Linked DNA regions of Homo sapiens: all the other regions are linked to region 1. The links are contacts of gene promoters, found by promoter capture Hi-C in human tissues and cell types (Jung and others, 2019). All regions are on one chromosome and are shown on one strand. The core of a region is centred on a gene start or on the middle of the fragment in contact, and the rest is flanking DNA. Distances in the headings are between cores, read along the strand shown.

The links. The method cuts DNA at HindIII sites, captures the fragments that hold promoters and counts their contacts. A contact is called where the count stands out against the background at its distance.
Region 2: a contact is called between a fragment that was not itself captured here and the fragment with the promoter of IRF5 in region 1, in 1 of the 25 tissues and cell types used here (mesenchymal stem cells).
Region 3: a contact is called between a fragment that was not itself captured here and the fragment with the promoter of IRF5 in region 1, in 1 of the 25 tissues and cell types used here (lymphoblastoid cells).

The regions. Positions count from the first base shown.
Region 1 is chr7:128,936,069-128,940,719 of GRCh38, reverse strand. It overlaps IRF5 (interferon regulatory factor 5), which reads right to left and starts at 2,793. Exons shown (of 9, transcript NM_001098629.3): 1 at 2,671-2,793. RefSeq lists enhancers at 97-326, 1,817-1,886, 1,920-2,503, 4,171-4,465 and a silencer at 2,167-2,926. The HindIII fragment of the contact is 4,364 bases long and covers 2,615-4,651 here.
Region 2 is chr7:129,348,968-129,353,618 of GRCh38, reverse strand. The region is part of intron 1 of AHCYL2 (adenosylhomocysteinase like 2); the gene reads right to left. LOC105375500 (a long non-coding RNA gene) reads right to left here. Exons shown (of 2, transcript XR_927962.3): 1 at 1,958-4,651; 2 at 1,142-1,423. Among named protein-coding and RNA genes, the nearest start is that of STRIP2, 83 kb to the left of the region's middle. The HindIII fragment of the contact is 3,062 bases long and covers 764-3,825 here.
Region 3 is chr7:129,206,275-129,210,925 of GRCh38, reverse strand. SMO (smoothened, frizzled class receptor) reads right to left here. Exons shown (of 12, transcript NM_005631.5): 5 at 4,557-4,651; 6 at 4,339-4,462; 7 at 2,075-2,167; 8 at 1,529-1,637; 9 at 378-563. Among named protein-coding and RNA genes, the nearest start is that of AHCYL2, 16 kb to the left of the region's middle. The HindIII fragment of the contact is 7,558 bases long and covers 1-4,651 here.

The DNA of each region.
Region 1 (4,651 bases), core at 1,544-4,043:
TCCAGCCCTGCCCTGGCCTCAGAACACGCGGGCTCAGTTCCGCTTTCTGCCCCAGCCTCCACCCGGCCCCAGGGGAAACGAAAGTGGCTAGACCGGGACAACTCAGAAACCAGACTCACTGTGGGCTGAGGGAGGGAGCCGAGTGGGTCCCCCAGACCAAATTTCCAACCTCCCACCCAGAGCTGTTCCCCGCACCCCAAACTTGCAGACAGTTTTTGTGCATTTAGTGTGGTTTATAACATGGGTGTGCACCCACCCATAGTTGTATCTGTAGACCCCTGAGAGGCCTTGGCCCTAGAATAGAGGGGTGCCAGTCACCAGCGGCACACAATTCTGGCCGAGCAAGGGTGGACAGAGGAAGCTCTGTCTGCACAGAATCGGGGAGAGCTTCCCTAATGACCCCCTGGGCTGAGGCCGTGCAGGCGCTGGTGCCGTTGGGGAGCTCAGAGGGTCCGGCTGCCTGCCCCCTACTGTCAGTCCAGCAGTCTGGCCCTGCCCAACACGGCTGTTTAATACAGAGCAAGGTTTTGAAATGATAACTCCGACCTCAGTGTCAGAGGGCCGCGTCCATACAGGCAGCTTAGGGAGGGGTGTGGAGGAGGAGCTCCCGTGACAAGCCCGGCTGTGATGAGCGAGAGTCTGTCCACCATGCCACAGAAGGGACTCAGCCTCAAGGCTTTTGCCTGCAGCTAGGTCCACACGAGCTCTAACCCGAACAGCATCCATCCTCCTAGAAGCTCCCTTCTGCCCAGAAAAGGGCTAGGTCTAATTCAGACCACCCCAATCAAGGCCCATGACTTTGGAAGTTCGGTGTCAGAACAGGTCTGCCTGCCAGGCTCCGGAGTCTCTGGGTGAAATGTATGGAGCCCTAGACCTAAGTCAATGGACCTGAGCCCCGGAAGGTGGGGAAATCCAACAGCCTGAGGAAGTCCCTACAATTGTGTGAGGCAGCGAAGCATCCAGTGGGCAGCCCTAGAGGACCTGCTGAGGTGGGGTAAGCCCACAGCTCACCCCAGGGCCATGCTGGAGTCCCAGGAGACAGTGCCCCCACCACCACCCAGGAGCTGCAATTCATGGGCACCAGGGACCCACTAGGGGAGGAAGTGCCACAGCAGTCCTAGTAAGAGTGGCCAGACAGCAGGCGCCCTGCTGCTCCCAGGGTTGGTCTGGGTCACATGTCTCCTTGCAAACCCACACCCAGCTCAGGGAGAGGACAAGGGGTTCCCTGTACAGGCCCTGACCCCCAAATCCCACCCCTCCGGGTCAGCTGCCCACACCCTGGGCCCTGCTGCCCACCTGGTCCAGACAGGCTGAGGCTCTGGGGCAAAAGGTGCCCAGAAAGAAGCTTCTTTCAGCTTCCTCCCAGGGTCAGGGTAGGGGAAGACCAGGGTACAGGGGAAAAACCCCAAAGTAGGGCCTTTAGATAAAAAGGGGTGATTTCCCAGTGCTTCCCTTGACTCTTGGAACCCCTCAGCCCCAGCACCCCAGGCCCCATAACTACTGGGGGTGGGGGCAGGAAGGGGAGGTCTTGCCAGAGGGCCTCCTGAGGGGCTACAGTTTCCTACATCGATACAGCCGAGCCCTCTCTGGTTCTGGTCACTTATCCCCATTCTGGGCCCTCGAGGAGCCCAGGCCCAGCCCAGTCCTCCGCCCCTGCTCCCCCCTCCCCTCCGCCCCCACCCCTCCCGCGTGCTCCGCTGGGGCACACCCCCTGGGCCAGCCCGCGGAGCCACCCCCACCTCCAGAGTCGGCCTCTGGACCTCTCCTCCTGCTGCTGGAGGAGCAGCACCCCGGTCCTCGCCCTGCTGTGTTCAGCGTGGCCGCGAGGCTGGGAAAGTCCCCCACTCCAGCCTCTGCTCCCAGGTACCCGCTCCCGCCCCTCCCGGGGTCCGGAGACAACCATCTCCCCACGCATCCCGGCCATGCTAGCCTCACTTTTCCTCCACGTTTAGCCTCTTCATTGTTGCCTTCTTAAGTTCTGGGACAGGACCTGAGGAAACCAGCCCAGGAACTATTGCGCCCCATCCTTTTCCGCTGCTCGGGGGACGAGAGTCTGCCATTCCCGGCCGCGAGCCCAGGGACGCAGCCTCTACCTGACACCATCTTCCCCCAAACTCTTGCACAGTTCCTGCCATTGGCCTGAAGATCCCGGGGGATGAACGCTTTAACCTCAACCTCTTTTCCGAAAGGGTGAGGGTGGCCCGGTAAGAGCAAGGGCGAGTGCATCGAAAGTAAGGATCGGGCCTCGCTCCTCTGTGGTCCAAGCCAGCCTCCAGCGGGGCTCCCGGGAACCCCCATTCTGGGCGATGGCGAGGGGGAGGGAGAGCAGCAGAGCCGGCGCCCCCCGCAGCGCTGCCCACTCCGCCGCCTGGGTCACTGGGCTCCCCGGGCGCCAGCACCCCAAACCGATCGGGGCGTGGGAGGCGCTTTGGAAGTCCCAGGCCGGCCGGGCGCACCCTGCTGTAGGCACCCACCCGAGCTCGCTTTCCAGGCGCAGCTGGACGCGGACCCCGCCCTACTCCAGTCTTCATCCCGCCGCCCGCAGGTGCCTGGGGGGCGCGGGGCCCAGTCTAGGCCTAGACTTGGGGGCAGTAGCCGGCACCGCTCCCGCCACCCTCGGGGCGCGCCGGGCGCGGACGCAGAGAGGAGAGCGCGGCGGCCGGGACCCACCTGTCTGCGGTGCGCCTGCGTGGCTGCGCCAGGGAGCACCGGCCGGGCGGCGGGACCAAGCTGAGCTCTGCCCAGGCTGCGCCTCCCGCCGGTCCGCCAACCTGCCGGGCACTTCCGCGTCTTGCCGCCCCCGCCCCTGGGCAGCTGCTGCTGAGCTCCGGGCGCGGGCAGTGCCCCGCCCCGCCCCGCGAATCCACTCCGGGCCCCGCACTGACCTGGCAACTGCAGATCCGGGCTGAGCCTCGGGCCAGGCCCAGGGCCTCCAGGGAGATGCCAGACGGCGCGGTGCCCTAGACTGGCCACTGGCTCTTTTGGCAATCTGGAATGGCAAAACTGTCATTTGACAACCCCGTACCTCCCGCTGCAGTGCTCAGTTGGGCCCTGGGAGAGGGTGGGGTGCTTCCCCACTCTGGTCCTCCGGGGCTGCACACAAATGAGGGCGCAGTGTGGCCGACCCACAGCTCCAGGCCCTCCTCTCGCCTGCCTACACCCCTGGCGAGGGTGGCTCTCGCCCTAGAACACAGTCGCTGCCCCCAGGATCCAGACACCCCTTCCAGATGTGCTTGCAGGCGGGAATCCTCTAGTCACTCTGTGCCTTTCTCATCCTCAAACCCTGCACCTGTCTCGCCCCAGCTCCCCTAAGTCGCCTTCCAGTCATCCCAGGGGCAGCGGCGTGGTCGCCTGTCCCACCTCCTCTCACTACTACCTTGACCGTCGACCTGTGGTTCTGAACCGTTTTCGATTCCATAAAGAACCTCACCCCAGAACCTCCACCTTCACACACCTCCTGTTCCTTCTCATGGAATGTTCTTCGCTTGGTAACTCTTGCTCTTCAAAATTTCTGTTTCTGAAATTTTCAGCATCGCCTTCTCTGGAAAGTCTGCCTTGACTTCCCCTCCCAGGTGGGGTTCCAGGGTGCAAATAGCTTCCTGGTTGATTTTGCTTATGATTTTGTTATGGATTGCCAGGGGTTTGGTCCAGGTCTGGCTGCTCACCGCACAGAAAGCCTATCACTGAGACAGCGAGTATTGCCAGGGAAGACTTTATTCCGGTGACATCAGCCAGTGAGCTGTTGAGAGGGGAGACAAACCTCCAATCCATCCCTCCCCTTGACTAAAGTTAGGGGCTTATATAGCAGGGAAGGAAAACAGGAGGGACAAGGAAGAGGAATTGGTCAACAGGCAGCAGGTGTACTGATGTAAGTGTCTCAAGCTTCAGTTCTATGAGCATCTGGCTTTTTGGAAAATTCAGCGGGTTTCAATTTTGATGTCTGATTTCCACTCGAATCAGCTTACTCAGGAACCTCCCTCCTGTCTTTTCATTGTTCATTTTATTTTATTTTATTTTTTGATATGGAGTCTTGCTCTGTCACCCGGGCTGGAGTGCAGCAGTGCGATCTCAGCTCACTGCAACCTCTGCCTCCCCAGTTCAAGCGATTCTCCTGCCTCAGCCTCCCAAGTAGAGACGGGGTTTCACCATGTTGGCCAGGCTGGTCTCGAGCTCCTGACCTCAGGCGATCCACCCGCCTTGGCCTCCCAAAGTGCTGGGATTACAGGCGGGAGCCACTGCGCCAAGCAGAGCCTTGTATTTTTAACAAATAAAGTAGTATTTGTTGATGAATCAGAACTTTGACCTTCCCTCCCCTCCCTTCTCCTGGGTTGAACTTTACCTTTAACAAGTTAAAAAAAGACACTCATGTGTTAACGTTTTTTTTTTTTCTCTTCTGTATCTCTCCCTCTTTCCTGACCTTTGAAGCCCTAATATGAAGTCGAAATATCATTATATATAAGTATTTTATTATTTGTATCTGCTGAGTATTTCATTATTTCATATTTTTAAAATTTAAAGTATGGATGGGGAAAATGTGAATGGGTAGATCGTTTTATATTTCTTTCTTTAAAAATGAAATTGCTAGGCCAGGCACGGTGGCTCACATTTGTAATCCCAACACTTTGAGAGGCTAAGGCAGGCAGATCACTTG
Region 2 (4,651 bases), core at 1,045-3,544, 410 kb before region 1:
CATCTAAAATTATTTGCTTATTTTTATCTAATAAGGGAGACGGATAAAAAATTAAGTAAATAGATAGATGAAATAATTAAATTTATGCTGTTATACAGGAAATGACCAAGAGGCTAAATAAGGTATAAAAGGAAGAAACTACCTTAGATAGAATAATCAAGAAAGGCAGTTTTAAGGTGATAACATTTGAACTAGGACCAGAGGGATGAGAGAAAGCTTGCTATATGAAAGAAAGAAAATAGTAATTGCAAAACCCCTGATGTAAGAAAGAACTTGGCATGTTTAAGGAATAGAAAGATTACTTGTGTGGCTGGAATTTAGTGAATGAAAGGGAGAATGAGGTTGTAAAGAATGTAAAGAATGTAAAGAATGGCCGGGCATGGTGGCTCACCCCTGTAATCCCAGCACTTCGGGAGGCCGAGGCAGGTGGATCACCTAAGGTCAGGAGTTCGAGACCAGCCTGGCCAACACGGTGAAACCCCATCTCTACTAAAAGTATACAAAAATTAGCCAGGTGTGGTGGCAGCCATCTGTAATCCCAGCTACTCAGAAGGCTGAGGCAGGAGAATCGCTTGAACCCGGGAGGCAGAGGCTGCAGTGAGCCGAGAGACCACACCATTGCATTCCAGCCTGGGCAACAAGAGAGAAACTCTGCACCAAAAAAAAAAAAAAAAAAAAAAAGAATGAGGAGGTAAAGGCCTAAACATGAAAGGCCTTATAAGCTAAGGAATTTGAATTTTATTCTATGTATAATGGGCATTATTAAAGGATTTTAAGCAATGGAGTGACATGAAATAATTTCTATTTACATCTGCTGCTGTGTGGAAAATGGATTAGAGACAGGCAAGAAGGGAAGACCAATGAGATACCTGATGCAGGAGATCAAGTGCAAGATGATGGTAACCTGGAATAGGCTAATGGCAAAGGTGGAGAAAAGCAAGCAGATCTGAGGTTATCTTAACAGCAGAACTCAAAAGACTTGCTAACGGATTGGACGTAGGAGGTGAGGAAAAAGAAATAATGACTTCAATTCTAGTTTGAACAACTGGGTTGGAGGTGATTTACTAAGATGAGAAAAATTGGGGCAGGGTGAAAGAGAGAAAGTTTTGTGGGAGAAATAAAAAATTCCATTGTGGACATGTTAAATTTAGAATATGAAACATTTATGTGGACACAGTATATATATAGATAGGTAGAGTGAGAGTCTGGAGCTCAAATACGAGGTCTACACCGGGGACAGCTTGACTGGAAGCTGTCAAGCTCATGGTGGCGGGTTTGGGTTTTCCAAAATTCTAATTTCCATTTGAAAGCTTGAATTTTATCATTGACAACAAATACTGTCAGTTTCCTTGAGACAGGCTCACTTCGTTCATTTTCAAGAAAATATCTGCCAGATGCCCAAACCTGAATAACCATGGTCTCTCTGTAAAGTAAAAGAGATACATGATTAAAAAAAGGAGCCTAGTGCAGTTTGCAACTCAAACAATCAGGAATGCTTTCCCTCAAGACAACCATTATATTTCAGCATGCAGCCGAAGTACTTTATGTGTACTTCCCAGTTCATTAAAAAAAAAATTATACTCCAGGATTGATATTTAATAAAACTAATCATTTTAATGGCTTCATCAAAAACATTCTAAGTGAAACTGGAAGAAAGATGTTATCTGCAAGTACACACCAATGACAAATACAATAACTAATGGTTATTAATTACTTACCTATCATTGCTTATATACCATTAGTGCAAAATGTCAACACCATAGAAAAGGCAAACACCTTAGTATTATTATGAAAACAGCTCTGACCTCACAGACCTTGAAAAACAGTATCAGGGACTCCTGGGAGTCCATGGACCACATTTTGAGAACCACTGCTTTAAGAGGTGCTGCGAGACCACTGTGAGGTCTGGTGATTAACAAAAGCTTTGTGGAGAAAGAGGACATGAATGTTTTTTTACCTGCAAAGGGGTGCCTCAGAAGGTCTTCTCTTCAGAAACGTCTTCTAATAAATTTTGCAAGACCCAATCTTCCATAGCCTCTACCATTGCCAATGGCGATTTCCTTTTCACCTTTCCCTTTGATTCAGGGGCTTTTGAGGTCAAAAGCATTTTCATAATACTAAAATGTCCTTTGTCTTTTTCACTTTTCATTCTCTCTTGAGTGTAGAGTGGGGTTTTCCAGAGGCTGTATGTGTGATGACGTCATCAGGCTGAATAAATGGAATGTATGCTTGTATATTTTTGTGTTTTCTAAAGTTTTCCAAGGAGATTGGTTACAGTATAAATAAAAGTGTTTTTGGCTTATTATTTCTACTATGTTCCTGCTGGTATCTCCAGGTATACCTACTATAATCTCTGTAACTTCACTATCATCCAATAAGTTGTTATTTTTAAAATCCAAAAGTGTTCCTTATGCCTATGCGGAAACACCAAAAATAAGTATATATCTTTGACTTGTTTTAAAATAAAATTCAAAACTTTTTTCAACTTTCATAAATTTAAAATTATTTAAAACTGCTATTTTAGAATTTAATAATATTCTAGAATAAAATAAAATTTATGCTATTTCTAATACTTAAGGATGAATTGTTTGCTTTTAAAAAAGAAATTAGGCCGGGGCCGGGCGCGGTGGCTCACGCCTGTAATCCCAGCACTTTGGGAGGCCGAGGAGGGTGGATCACCTGAGGTCAGAAGTTCAAGACCAGCCTGGTCAACATGGTGAAACCCTGTCTCTACTAAATATACAAAAATTAGCGGGGCATCATGGCGGGAGCCTCTAATCCCAGCTACTCAGGAAGCTGAGGCAGGAGAAGCACTTGAACCTGGGATACAGAGATTGCAGTGAGCTGAGAGCCTGAGTAACAGAGCAAAACTCCATCCCTAAAAGATAAAAAAAAAAAAAAAAAGAAAGAAAGAAAGAAAAAGAAAATGAAGGAGGCTGGGTGCAATGGCTCACACCTGTAATCCCAGCACTTTGGAAGGCCGAGGCAGGAGGATCACAAGGTCAGGAGTTCGAGACCAGCCTGGCCAACATAGTGAAACCCTGTCTCTACTAAAAATACAAAAATTAGTCAGGTATGGTGGCACAATGCACCTGTAGTCCCAGCCACTTGAGAGGCTGAGGTGAAAGAATCCCTTGAACCCGGGAGGCAGAGGTTGCAGTAAGCTGAGACCACGCCATTGCACTCCAGCCCATGTGACAAAAGTGAGACTCCATCTCCAAAAAAAAAAAAAAAGACTACATTTATTGAATGCTTTCTACATTCCAAATACTATGTTGCTTTGGCATGTATTATCTCATTTAATCCTTATAATGCTATACAGTAGGTGCTTTTATTATCACCATTTCACAACTGAGGAAACAAGTATGGACAGGATAAGTGACTGACCCAAGATCAGAGCTCATAAGACACAGAGCTAAAACCTGAATCCAGGTACCTCTGCATGCTTTATCTGAAATGCCCTTATCTTCACATGCTTGTTGAATGGATTAACCCTGAACTGCCTTGTAAGTCAAGAATCCCATCTTCTATAAAGCCTTTTGAAGCAATAGGCAAAAATGACCACAGTATAAATTTGGGACAAATGTTTCTGAGTAATTGAGTTGTACAATAATATGAATAACTAAATGTACATCTGAGTTAAAGTATGCAGATTGGTTTTTCATAAATAAGAACTATGATCTGGACTTCAATCAAGTAACAGATAATGATCAATATTGATAGAGGCATTTTTTATTAGTGTAGAACTACAACTCACTGGTTCTACTATTCTCCCCTTTTCCCAAAACAAAGCAGAGAAAAGACCTTGAGATGGGAGAGGTTTTACAGAGATGTCAACAGGACTACCAGGGCATCTTACATAGCCCTATCTCTTTAGTAAGGTAGCTTTATTGCTAATGTGAAAATAAACCATGGCTGTTCTATATGGAATCAGGTTGGCATACGCTTTTTTTTTTTTTTTTTTTTTGAAACAGAGTCTTGCATTGTTGCCCAGGCTGGAATGCAATGATGCCATCTCAGCTCACTACAACCTCCGCTTCCCGGGTTCAAGCAATTCTCCTGCCTCACTCAGCCTCCTGAGTAGCTGGGATTACAGGCATGTGCCACCACGCCTGGCTAATTTTTGTGGGTTTTTTTTTTTTTTTTTTTTGGTAGAGATGGGGTTTCACCATGTTGGCCAGGCTAGTCTCGAACTGACCTCAGGTGATTCTCTCGCCTCAGCCTTCCCAAGTGCTGGGATTACAGACATAAGCCACCATGCCCGGCCTGACATAAGTTCTTATATTTGTATATACAAACCTCCAATTTTATCCCTCAGTCAAGATTTAGGTCTCTACCTAAAGATTATTCTTAGCATAAGGGTTTTTCTTGGTTTATGACAATATTTCTAATTTTTAAAGCCCATACAGAGTAAACCTAGATAGAATCAAAACATTTTCAAGATGAAGGGAACCTTTGAATTTGTCCAGATCAATCACTTCTTTTTACAGTTAAGAAGTTGAGACCTAGAAAGTTTAAATTACTTGCCTAGACATGATATATTTAGAAAAGATAAAAGTTGTGAGGAATAAAAGTCAGCCAGAGTCTCTTCCTAGCTGTAAAGAGAAAACGATCTGACAGCAGAGTATTTTCTGGTGGAAAGAAACATAAA
Region 3 (4,651 bases), core at 876-3,375, 270 kb before region 1:
GCCACTTCCCATCAAATCTTGGGAAGGGCCAGCGATGCCATTCTTTCCAGAGAAGGAGGCTCCCAAGGGCCTCAAGTCCTTCAAGGACTCAGGAGTAGAGGCCTTCTCTGCAAAGAAGTGGGGCCAGAATGCAGAGCTCCTGTGTGCCCAGCCCTCCAATCACTCCGCTCTTAAAAGGTGATGGCAGCTGGCTCTGCCCTTGGCCCAGGCCCAGGCCCAGGCATCAGGCCACCCAAGGACAGAAGGTGCCACCAGGGGGCAGCGGTGAACCACTGACCAAGGCTGTGCTAGAGGCAGGACCCGACAAAACCTAAAGATGGGGTCCCAAGGCTGAGGGTGAGGCGGGCAGGGCAGGAGGGGCTGGCTGCCATGCCCACCTGCACCAGGTACGCCTCCAGATGAGCAGCGTGGCCTTGGTCCAGACCCAGGTGCTCATGGCGATGCCAGTTCCAAACATGGCAAACAGGTTGATCTTCTCCACCAGAAGGCTCGGGCGATTCTTGATCTCACAGTCAGGGATGGGCTGCTTGGTGGGCAGCCCGATGGTCACATTGGCCTGACATCTACAGTGAGGGAACGTAGACAGGTGAGGCTTTCCTTTCTTTTCCTCTCTCTTTTTTTGAGATAGGATCTTGCTCTGTCACCCAGGCTAGAGTGCGGTGGCGTGATCACAACCCACTGCAGCTTCCAACTCCTGGGCTCAGGCAATCTCCTGCTTCAGCCTCCCAAGTAGCTGGGACTACAGGTGGGGTTTTCTGAGTCTACTGGGTAGACTCAGACAATCAATCCAAAAACTTTAGAAAGGGCTAAGCTCCACAGCACTGATCTCAACCCTGGGTGCTCATTAGAATCAACTGGGGAGCTTTTAATAGCTACTGATGCCTGGGACCCACCCTAGACAATTAAATTGAATCTCTGGGGCAGAGACTCAGGCATCACTGTGGTTTAAAGCATCCCAGACTGGAAGCCGGAACCTTTACGGAAGAGCCTGAAGCAGTCAGGGCTTGGACTAGCATCCATTTTAGCGACTGTCCTTGTAACAGTGGGTACTGCGCTTCTCTCAGCAGTAGCAATGTCTTACTCTCTCCAATCCATCCTCATTATGACACAAAAAAGCACAGGCAAAAACTAGCCAACATTAGCAGGTCATTAACCTATCACAGAGAGGTAACTAGTCCTGTGCCAGGATCTAAAGCAGGCTCTGCAGGAGAGCACACAGAATTAGAGGGCAACTTAGTGTCAGTCAGAGAAGACGAAGCTGAACTGGCTGCTTAACAGTCACACATGCACCAGCTGGGCAACCAAGGGGGTGGAGAGGGAAGGGCAGAGGTGAGAAGGGATGCGAAGGTTGTTTGCCACGTTTGAGAAACTACGGAGACTGATGCCTTATGCACCCAGACACCATCCATTGAATCTGCTGTCTGCAGCAGGGACCTGGCAAATCCCTGCTGCCCGGTGGGTGGAGGTGGGTGTCTTTATGGCCTTGGCTCCAGCTCCCAGCACTGCCGCCTCCATGCCCCTCACTCACAGCACATAGTCCCGGAAGCTGCGCTCCCACTCAGCCTGGTTGAAGAAGTCGTAGAAGTGGCAGCTGAAGGTAATGAGCACAAAGCCAAAGGCCAGGAAGCCAAAAATGCCTGTGGAGGACAGGGGCAGGACAGGACGTTACCAAGCCCAGTCCCGCAGCAGCAGTGGGGAGGAGAGAGTCTGCCCCACTGGGCCTCAAAGTTCACCCAGCTGGGGCTGGGGTGAACTCATGCTGGGCTCAGTCCAAGAACTGCTTTCTCTAAAATAAAATAAGAAGGGCACTTGAAGCAACTGTGGGAGGGACCACGTGGGACGTAGTGGGCAGGAGGAACCAGTCCCGGCATGAACTTGACTGAATTCTTCCCCCCGAGTAGACCCCCTTCTTTTGAGCTGCCACTACCACTACCACCTACACACACCCCTTGTCCTTGTCCCTATGGCTAACTTGTCCCACTGACTTACTGCATCCTGCCGGTCGCATAGCCCCAGGAGGGTGCAGTGTTGGGCTGGCCAGGACCTCAGACCGAAGTCCCCCGGGGCCACTCACCCAGGCGCAGCATGGTCTCGTTGATCTTGCTGGCAGCCTTCTCACTCAGCAGCCCGGGGTGGTTGCTCTTGATGGAGAACAGAGTCATGACTCCTGAACAGAAGGGGGACCTCAGACATTAGCAGGGGTGAGGCTGCCCTGCTGGGAAGGATGGGTGAGTGGGAGGAGGGTCCTAAGGCTCTGGAGTCCCAAGTCTGATTACCCCTGTGCTAAATGAAAACCTGGGGAGCTAGAGACACTGGAGAAATGGTGAGAAGACCAGGGCAGAGCCTAGACAGACACTTGAGAAGAGGGAGCCTCGGTCGTGGCCCAGCTGCCCCTGAAGAAGGGGGCAGATCAAAGCTGTTCTGATGGGAAAGACATAAAACAGACTCAAGAACAGCGCTATCCATATAATTTTTTTTTTGAGATGGAACCCTGTCGCCCAGGCTGGAGTGCAATGGCGTGATCTCGGCTCATTGTAAACTCCGCCTCCCAGGTTCAAGCAATTCTCCTGCCTCAGCCTCCCAAGCAGCTGGGATCACAGGCACCTACCATCACGCCGGCTAATTTTTGTATTTTTGTAAAGATGGGGTTTCACCATGTTGGCCAGGATGGTCTTGAACTCCTGAACTCAGGTGATCTGCCCACCTCGGCCTCCCAAAGTGCTGGGATTACAGGTGTGAGCCACCATGCCGGCCTTCCCATAGAAATATGTGAGCCACATACATATGGCAAATTTCTAGTGGCCACTTAAAAAAAGTTAAAAGAAACAAGCAAAACTAATATCAATATATTTTACAAACCTAATATATTCAAAATAAAATCATTTCAACATGTAATCCATGTAACAAATTATTAATGAGATATTTTACATTTTTTTCCCACTAAGTTTTTTTTTTAATACAGTGTGTATTTCACATTTTACAACACATCTCAATTTGGACTTGTTTCTTTTTGTTGTTGTCTTGTTTTCTTTGGAGACAGGGTCTCACTCTGTCACTCAGGCTGGAGTGCAGTGGCAAGATCATGGCTCACTGCAGCCTCAACCTCCTGGGCTCAAGCAAGCCTCCCACCTCAGCCTCTCACATAGCTAGGACCACAGGCATGTGCCACCCTGCCCAGGCAACTTTTGTATTTTTTGTAGAGATGGGGTTTCACTATGTTGTTCAGGCTGGTCTCGAACTCTGAGCTCAAGTGATCCGTCCGTCTCAGCCTCCCAAAGTACTGGGATTACAGGAGTGAGCCGCCGCACCCAGGCTGGACTAGTTCAACACATGTGGCTAGTGATTACCATACTAGGACAGCATGATAACGAAGCACAAATCAGAGGGCCAGACACTATGCCAAAAAGAGGGGAAAGAGGTGACTGAACAGAAGGCTGGCAGTTCAGGGTGAGGAAACTGAGGTTTACAAAGAAAACCCAACAACAATGAGCTAAATAGATGCTGAGGCTTACTATGGGATGGCAGCATGAGACAGGAAAGTTAGGGACCACTAATTCCACGCATGCTGTGAGAGCTGTGTGTGCCGGGGACAGAAAGAAGATGAAAACCAAGCTCCAGAAGATTGACAGTACATATCGAATTAATGTGCACACAGATAACCAAACGACCTAGGTTGGTCCAAGTGGGCAGAGTAGGTTACTCAGGGTGTTCATCACACAAGTGCACCGGCCAGGAGCTGACTGGGGCTGGATCCTGACCCAACTCCACCTAACAAGCTGTGAGGCTGGGCACTGTGGCTCATGCCTGTAATCTCCGCACTTTGGGAGGCTGAGGTGGTGGATCACTTTAGGTCAGGAGTTCAAGACCAGCCTGGCTAACATGGTGAAACCCCGTCTCTACTAAAAATACAAAAATTAGCCAGACGTGGTGGTGCATGCCTGTAATTTTAGCTATGGGGGAGGGTGAGGCAGGAGAATCACTTGAACCCAGGAGGCGAAGGTTGCAGTGAGCCAAGATTGTGCCACTGCACTCCAGCCTGGGCAACAGAGCTAGACTCTGTCTCAAAAACAAAAACAAACAAAAAAAACAAGCTGTGAGCCCTGGGCCAAGGCCCTGGAGAGAGGGATGGATTTTTCTGGCCAGTACAAAGGTGCTGTCCCGCAGCAAGTGCTCACGGTGTTTCGTCTGCCTAGAGGGTCACCTTCTACTGTGTGAAGGCCCTATAGGAGCTAGCTGGGGTTTCAGCATGGGGGCAGCCGTGCTGGCAGCTCCCAGTACTGGCAGCAAGTGCCCAGTATATTTTGTTGCCCAACTGGTCCTGGCCTGGTCTTCACTCACCTCGGATGAGGAAGTAGCCTCCCACGATGAGCACCAGGCCGATTGGGGCCAGCACGAAGCCCGCACGGTATCGGTAGTTCTTGTAGCCCACAAAACAAATCCCACTCACAGAGTCCCCATCCACCTGCAGCAGGAAGGGGTGGGACAGAAGGTGGGTTACTGGCCCCCTCCCTCAAACTCACCCCATCCAGGTCTCCCGTTCCTACCAGTCACTATACCTGCGCCACAGCAAGGATTGCCACAGTGAGGACAAAGGGGAGTGACCAGGTGAGCAGGTGGAAGTAGGAGGTCTTGCCCGAGAGAGGCTGGTAGG